Linked DNA regions of Homo sapiens: all the other regions are linked to region 2. The links are contacts of gene promoters, found by promoter capture Hi-C in blood cells and fetal thymus (Javierre and others, 2016). All regions are on one chromosome and are shown on one strand. Each heading gives the region's core, a stretch centred on a gene start or on the middle of the fragment in contact. The rest is flanking DNA. Distances are from core to core; before and after follow the strand shown.

Region 1 (2,700 bases), core at 128-2,627, 350 kb before region 2:
TATCTCCTAATGCTATCCCTCCCCCCTCCCCCCACCCCACAAGAGTCCCCAGAGTGTGATGTTCCCCTTCCTGTGTCCATGTGTTCTCATTGTTCAATTCCCACCTATGAGTGAGAACATGCGGTGTTTGGTTTTTTGTCCTTGCAATAGTTTGCTGAGAATGATGGTTTCCAATTTCATCCATGTCCCTACAAAGGACATGAACTCATAGCTAATGAAACATTTCGAGATCCAAAAGCTTACAATCACCACTTGTCCAGAAAAATGTTGCTGATACATTTGATGTGTAGTCTACAGGGGCTTTTACTGTCCTTTAGAGAAGTAGATTTCTTTTGATTTACCCAAGTGTATAAATTTCTAATACTGATCTTTCTGTCACTCTGAACCTACTATTGACTTGACCATGTAGAATAGAAACCCAGTGTCTGTGTAGGAACCAGGACGTTGCAGGGTTTGGGGCAGGGACTAACAAGATATAGTTTGCATGCTTCAAAGATCTCTCTGTCTTCTGTATGAGGAATTTATTCTAGGGAGGCAAGAATAGAAGCAGGGAGACAAGTTAGAAGATTATTAGGATGATGGTGCTGGCGATGGTAAGAAATCGGGATGTATATTGAAGGTAGAACCAGCAGAATTTACTCATGCATTGACTATGAAAGGGAAAAGCGAATCAAATAAAACTTGGAGGTTTCCTCCTGATTACCTGGGAGAATACTGATGGTATTTATTGAGGTATGGAAGGCAGGGCATAACAGGTTGGGGTGAACAGAGCACTCAGGAGTTTTGTTTAAGGCATATTAAATCTGAGATGCTTATTGGACATCTCAATAGCAATGTTGGGTAGGCAGTTAAATATATGTTTGGTGCTCAAAAGGAAGAGATGCCAGTGCTAAAGACATACATCTGGGAGTCTTAGAAGATTGTATTATTGACCCCAGCTATTTGCTCTCTTTCTGGTCATGTGACTTTTTCTTCCAGGGATGACTATACCTTCCTTCCTCATGGAATTTATGAGCATGTTCTGGCCACCCAGATGTAAGTTTCCTATGTCAAACTAGAAGTTTCTGATGTGATTATCTGGTTTACCTCTGTTTCTATTGTTCCTGCTCTCCACACTATAAGAACAATATGTCCAAGATAAGGGTGGCTACATCAGTTCTGGGTCCTGAAATAAAAAGACGCATGGACTTGAACACAGTCAAGCTGAGCTGAGTCACAGATAATCCCTCAGCCCTCATGTAACATGAACAAGAAATCAATAAATGTTTATTGTTGTTAAATACTGATATGTTGGAGTTATTTGCAACCTCAGTAAAGGCCAACTAATAAAAAAATTGGTAACAGAAGTGCTACCATATCTAAAAATATAAAATATGAGGCATTAACTTTAGGGCTAGGTAGCAAGGGAATTCTTCCAGGAGGTTGGACAAGTAAGATTCATGATATGCAGTCGTGAAAAGTTTGGTCAAATTGTGTCTTCTAAACTTGGAAGGCAGATAATGTTCCTAATGGACTTGCTGCATATGGACAAATATAGAAGGATTGAAAAATTGAAAGAGAGCATGATGGTAATATGAATAAGAGGTGAGCTCAGAAAGAATTCACCTATTTCAATGAATGAGATGGAAAATAGGCAGCAAAGAAATTCTGGGCCTTCAAGTTTGGACAATAAAATCCTTCTCACCTCCCACCTATAAAATATAAAATTTAAGTATTCCTTGAAATAGAAAGGCCTTTTAATACTCCATCTCAGGGCAAAGACAGAACCAAAGGTGTCATCATCAGGCCTATGTTAAGATTTCTGGTTGGATTAAGGTGACTTGCAGACATTTTTTTTTCCACCACTGGACAAAACGGCTCAGGGAAAAGAGATCAAGAGTACGTTCCTATGAAAGCATGATATACCCACATACCCATAATCAAGTCTAGAGAAAGTCTTTCTTGAAATGAGTAATGGTTGTGTCTATTGGAACATGGATCCAACCAGTACCAAATAGATTAAAACAATACAACAAAGTGTTTGAGAGAGTTAGGTTGTCAAAAGTGCTGCCAGTCTGTGACTATTTGAAAAGCAAAGTTGGCCCTTAGGCTAATTTGCTTTTAAATGACTTTAGAGATGGGGTCTTTTTCTGTCACACAGGCTGGAGTGCAGTGGTGTGATCACAGCTCACAGCAACCTCAACCTCCTGGGCTCAAGTGATCCTCCTGCCTCAACCTCCCAAAGTGCTGGAATCACAGGTGTCAGCCAGCCCTTAGGCTAAGTTTTTATGGGCAAGAATATGATGTATTCTGAGGGAAGAAAATATATGTGATCAATGTTGGATCATGATAGATTATTATTCCCAATTATTTGTTCCCATAGTCTAATAGGATGATTTATCCTCACTCACTTTCTGTCATGTGAGTTGTCTTCCCTCTTCGGAGAGACAATGTGTCTCCACTTCACATATTTGGATACATGAAATAATTCAGTTAATAAGATGTGAGGACATGTACATATCTGAGAAAAAGCTTTAAATATGATTTCATGGTTTGTGTTGCACTCTCTTGCTCTATTTTCCACAATAAGACAACGTATTCCAGAAAAGGGCTCTTCAATCTAGGATAAGTCACACTGAGTTTAGCAAAGCTAAGCAGAGCCACAGCTGACCCACAGCCTTAGCGTAAATGGTCAAGAAATAAATCGTTTTTGTAAGGCAG
Region 2 (2,938 bases), core at 100-2,599:
CCACCATCACTATTTCTCTTAAAGGGCGACCGCTCGTTAACATATACAACTGCTCTGGGGTGCAAGTTGGAGACAACAACTACTTGACTATGCAACAGACAACTGCCTTGCCCACATGGGGCTTGGCACCTTCGGGCAAGGGGAGGGGCTTGCAGCACCCCCCACCAGTAGGTTCGCAAGAAGGCCCTAAAGATCCTGAAGCCTGGAGCAGGCCACAGGGTTGGTATAATCATAGCGGGAAATAAAGCACCTTCCAAGCTTGCCTCCAAGAGTTACGAGTTAAGGAAGAGTGCCACCCCTTGAGGCCCCTGACTTCCTTCTAGGGCAGTCTGGCCTGCCCACAAACTGACTTTGTGACCTGTCCCCCAGGAGTCAATAAACATGATGGAATGCTAGTCAGTCTGAGCTCAGCCAGGGGCAGGGAGGGACTGGGATGGGGGTGGGAGCTGCCAGTGAGGGATAGGGAGGCACCACAGCTCTGCTATGGCAGGAAGTGGGGATGCTGGGGGCTGGGAGTGGGCAATGGCCTGGCACACAAGGTCAGGGCACAGCCGGCTACAACAGGAAGGAATCCTAGAGGCCTGGTTCCCCAGACCACTCTCTAATCTCAGGGCAGTGCTTCCTCTAAAGCCTAGGATGGCGACCCCACCCTAACCCTAAACTCTGGGGATAGAGGCTGTGGTCCCTTTTCTTCCGGGCTCTCAAGACTCACTTGCAGGGCTCTGGCGAGGGATGAGTTGATGTGAAAGATCACAGACCTGGCCCCGCACGGTGCCCCCAGGCTCTTAGAGATCATGACGCCACATACCTGCCTCCACCACACACTCAGGTTGCTTCCTGGACATTGCTTCCCTTTTGATTCCCAGTTGCTGTTCGGGAGTGGAAAGCTATGGCTCCTAAAGCTATACACAGGCGCAACCCCTCCCACGGAGCATGAACAGTTCAAACCCGGTGGTAGTGGTTGCCAGCCAAGCGGAGAGGTCAAGAGAATGAGCGCCCCCAACTCTGACCTAGATCCCCACCAGGACCCACATTCTTCCCTACATTCTCGCCAGGCTTCAGCCCCCCGCCCTCGGTCTCCCCACTACCAAACGTTCACCTCCATTTGGACACATCCCATTGGGTCCACCCCAGCCCACCCCTTCGCATCTCTCCCAGGGTCCACATTGCCCTTCCCTGAAGGGGCTGAAGCGGGGAGGCGATGGTGTTAGGAGAGACAAAACCAAGTGCGGGAGGAGACCAGGGGAGTCCGGCTTTGGCACAGGAAGGGGCCGGGCTGTCCCGTCGGGGAAGTGGGAGGGGGCCGCGGCGCCGGGAGGGAAGCGCCTGTCGCCCGGGACTCTGAGCCAGAGCGCAGCGGCGAGCGTGACTCCGCCATCAGGTCCCCGGCTCCCTCCCCGGACCTAGCCCACTCCGCTGCGCCAGCGCCGCGGGCAGTGAGTTCGGGGATCAGGGGAACCCGGGGCTCCCTCGCACCAACCCCAAATCCTGCCCTCCTGGCGATGAGGCTTTTCTAGGGCACCTCTACAATCCGGGTTTGAGGGAGGAGGAGGAAAGGACTGAGGGATCCCCTCATCGCCAGCTGGGAGCGGGCTGGGAGGCCGCAGGGAGGGCCTGAAAAAGGAGACGGGATTGCCACGAGGTTGGGGGCGCGGGGTGGTAGCGGCTTTGAGCGGGTGAGAAAAGCTCAGGTGGGGCCCGCCGGGCCGAAGGAGGTAACCCGGCGCCCGGCCCTAGCCAGCCCCGGGGCTCGGGGCTGGGGAGATCATGGCCCGCCTCTTCAGCCCCCGGCCGCCCCCCAGCGAAGACCTCTTCTACGAGACCTACTACAGCCTGAGCCAGCAGTACCCGCTGCTGCTGCTGCTGCTGGGGATCGTGCTCTGTGCGCTCGCGGCGCTGCTCGCAGTGGCCTGGGCCAGCGGCAGGGTGAGCCGAGCCTCTGCTGCGGGAGGGTCTCTACCTGGGGAGCATTTTCGGGGTTGGGGTTTGTGGGGTCTTCTTTTCGATGTGTTTTCGTTGCTGGGAGCAGAGAAAGAAAGGACCATTGAGCCTGGCTAGGAACTGCAGTGACCCTGGGCAAGTCACTCTACCCTTCTGGGTCTGCTCAGGGAGAAAGCTGAGTCCTGGATGCTTCTCGTTTCTGTCCGGGTTCTGACAGACTTTATGAACATCCGTGGTCTACGGGTTCTACAATAAATCCATCACCGGATTTTCCAGTTTTCCAAAGGGGAAATTCTAGGAGGCCCCTGGGGAATTCATTTCCTGCCTTTCTCTCCCTCTTAGGGGATGTAGAGCAGTTGTACCCACAGACTCCCAGAAGGCACCCTCCACCGGGCTCTCACTGAGTCCCAAAGTAAACCCATGTCCAGTTTCTGTTTGGGGAGGAAGAAGGTCTTCAATCCAATTCTAGAAATGGCCTGCCCCTGGTTTTCTTTTCACTGCTTGGAGGCAAGGTGGGAAAATCACCGGGCGCGGCCAATCCTTGCTGGTCCACGCCTAAATCCGGGAAGAGGTGGGGACAAAATGCTGGGACGGCTGTGCAGCTTCTGCTTGGAGTTGAGGCAGGTGGCGAGATCGCAGCCCTGGTGGCCAGGGAGGTGCGGGACGCCGCGGGTCCTGGCGCCCCCTGCTGCTCGAGCGCTGCCTCGCGCCGCCCTTCAAGCTGCCGGCCGCGGTCCCCGGCTCCGGGAATCTCCCGAGCAAATTGGCCAGATTTGGAGACATTCATTCCGAAGTGCCTCCTTGTGAGCTTGGATCTATCTTTCACTTGCTTCATGACGCTTTGGTTCCCGTTTGACAGATAAGAAAACTGAGGCTCAGAAACAAATAGGGGATGGGAGCCAGATCTTCTGGGTAGCTGTCCCAGCAAGATAATAGGTTGGACAACAGGAGGCTGGGCGCTGTGGCTCACGCCTGTAATCCCAGCACTTTGGGAGGC
Region 3 (2,700 bases), core at 90-2,589, 390 kb after region 2:
GATCTCGATCCCTTGACCTAGTGATCTTCCTGCCTTGGCCTCCAAAAGTGCTGGGATAGCAGGCGTGAGCCACTGCACCCAATTAGGTGTTTTAAATTCTCTATGTGAAATCAGAGTGACTGATGACAACCTTGACCACTGTGTGTGTTGCATAGTTACACTTCAGTTTTCTGGCATTGTTGGGCAATCCATAGTTTTCATAGAAATCAATTTTCTCTCAACTGGAATTTAAACTTTCAGGATCAGTGTGTTTTTCAAATCAACACATCTACTCATTAAATTATATAAATAACACATTATTTTAAAAAGGGACAGAAAATTATTTGAAAAGTAAAAGGTAACTCTTCCCTATGGTTCTTTTACCTTCTTCCCATATAGCTCTTGGCTTTGTGTATCCTTCCAGAAGTTTCCTGTACATTTACATGCATTTTTCTTTTAAAAATTTTTTCCACAATTGAAATGACACTATACATACTGTCCTTCAAATTTCTTTTCTTTTCTTTCTTCTATGCTCCAATCCCCACTTTTTAATTTCTTTTTTTAAATAATTATACTTTAAGTTCTGAGATACACTTGCAGAATGTGCAGGTTTGTTACACAAGTGTACATGTGCCATGGTGGTTTTCTGCACCCATCAACCCATCATCTACATTAAGTATTTCTCCTAATGCTATCCCTCCCCTAGCCCCCCACCCCCCTGAAAAGGCCATGGTGTGTGATATTGCCCTCCCTGTGTCCATGTGTTCTCATTGTTCAACTTCCACTTATGAGTGAGAACGTGCAGTGTTTGGTTTTCTGTTCTTTCATTAGTTTGCTGAGAATGACGGTTTCCAGCTTCATCCAGGTCTTTGCAAAGGACATGAACTCATCATTTTTTATGGCTGCATAATATTCCATGGTGTATATGTGCCACATTTTCTTTTTCCAGTCTATCATTGATGGGCATTTGGGTTGGTCCAAGGTTTTTCTATTGTGAACAGTGCTGCAATAAACATATATATGCATGTGTCTTTATAGTAGAATGATTTATAATCCTTTGGATATATACCCTGTAATGGGATTGCTGGGTCAAATGGTATTTGTAGTTCTAGATCCTTGTGGAATGGCCACACTGTCTTCCACAATGGTTGAACTAATTTACACTCCCACCAACAGTATAAAAGCGTTCCTATTTCTCCACATCCTCTCCAGCATCTGTTGTTTCCTGACATTTTAATGATTGCCATTCTAACTGGTGTGAGATGGTATCTCATTGTGGTTTTGATTTGCATTTTTCTAATGAGCAGTGATGATGAGCATTTTTTCATGTTTCTTGGCTGCATAAATGTTTTCTTTTGAGAAGTATCTGTTCACATTCTTAGCCCACTTTTTGATGGTTTTTTTTTCTTGTAAATTTAAGTTTTTTGTACATTCTGGATATTAGCCCTTTGTCAGATAGATAGATTGCAAAAATTTTCTCACATTCTGTAGGTTCTCTGTTCACTCTAATTATAGTTTCTTTTGGTGTACAGAAGCTCTTTAGTTTAATTAAGTCCCATTTGTCTATTCTGGCTTTTTTTGCTGTTGCTTTGGGTATTTTAGTCGTGAAGTCTTTGCTCATGCCTATGTCCTGAATGGTATGTCCTAGGTTTTCCTCTAGGGTTTTTATGGTTTTAGGTCTTATGTTTAAGTCTTTAATCCATCTTGAGTTAATTTTTTTATAAGGTGTAAGGAAGGGGTCCAGTTTCAGTTTTCTGCATATGGCTAGCCAGTTTTCCCAACACCATTTATTAAATAGGAAATCTTTTCCTTATTGCTTGTTTTTGTTAGGTTTGTCAAAGATCAGATGGTTGTAGATGTGTGGTGTTGTTTCTGAGGCCTCTGTTCTGTTCCATTGGTCTAGATATCTGTTTTGGTACCAGTACCATGCTGTTTTGGTTACTGTAGCCTTGCCGTATAGTTTGAAGTGAGGTAGCATCATGCGTCCAGCTTTGTTCTTTTTGCTTAGGATTGTCTTCATTATATTGGCTCTTTTTTGGTTCCATATAAAATTCAAAGTAGTTTTTTCCAATTCTGTGAAGAAAGTCAATGGTAGCTTGATGGGGATAGCATTGAATCTATAAATTACTTTGGGCAGTATGGCCATTTTCACGATATTGATTCTTCCTATCCATGGGCATGGAATGTTTTTCCATTTGTTTGTGTCCTCACTTATTTCCTCGAGCAGTGTCTGTATTTCTCCTTGAAGAGGTCCTTCACATCCCTTGTAAGTTGGATTCCTAGGTATTTTATTCTCTTTGTAGCAATTGTGAATGGGAGTTCACTCATGATTTGGCTCTCTATTGTCTGTTATTGGCGTATAGGAATGCTTGTCATTTTTGCACATTGATTTTGTATCCTGAGACTTTGCTGAAGTTGCTTATCAGCTTAAGGAGATTTTGGGCTGAGACGATAAGGTTTTCTAAATATACAATCATGTCATCTGCAAACAGAGACAATTTTACTTCCTCTCTTCCTGTTTGAATACCTTTTATTTCTTTCTCTTTCCTGATTGCCCTAGCCAGAACTTCCAATACTATGTTGAATAGGAGTTGTAGTTGTGAGAGGGCATCCTTGTCTCGTGCCTTTTTTCAAAGGGAATGCTTCCAGTTTTTGCCCATGCAGTATGATACTGGCTGTGGCTTTGTCATAAATAGCTCTTATTATTTAGAGATACATCCC

The links. Contacts are between HindIII fragments. The CHiCAGO score rates a contact against its expected background, and 5 or more counts as called.
Region 1: a contact is called between a fragment that was not itself captured here and the fragment with the promoter of ADCY4 in region 2, in 1 of 17 cell types (fetal thymus). The highest score is 5.0, in fetal thymus.
Region 3: a contact is called between a fragment that was not itself captured here and the fragment with the promoter of ADCY4 in region 2, in 1 of 17 cell types (activated CD4 T cells). The highest score is 5.0, in activated CD4 T cells.

The regions. Positions count from the first base shown.
Region 1 is chr14:24,683,401-24,686,100 of GRCh38, reverse strand. No RefSeq gene overlaps it. Among named protein-coding and RNA genes, the nearest start is that of GZMB, 51 kb to the right of the region's middle. The HindIII fragment of the contact is 2,273 bases long and covers 241-2,513 here.
Region 2 is chr14:24,333,482-24,336,419 of GRCh38, reverse strand. ADCY4 (adenylate cyclase 4) reads left to right here and starts at 1,349. Exons shown (of 25, transcript NM_001198568.2): 1 at 1,349-1,926. The coding sequence starts at 1,768. RIPK3 (receptor interacting serine/threonine kinase 3) reads left to right here. Exons shown (of 10, transcript NM_006871.4): 10 at 25-395. The coding sequence ends at 245. RefSeq lists silencers at 1,643-1,722, 1,793-1,952, 2,613-2,712. The HindIII fragment of the contact is 4,552 bases long and covers 261-2,938 here.
Region 3 is chr14:23,947,444-23,950,143 of GRCh38, reverse strand. The region is part of intron 1 of DHRS4-AS1 (DHRS4 antisense RNA 1); the gene reads left to right. Among named protein-coding and RNA genes, the nearest start is that of DHRS4, 5.0 kb to the left of the region's middle. The HindIII fragment of the contact is 7,541 bases long and covers 1-2,700 here.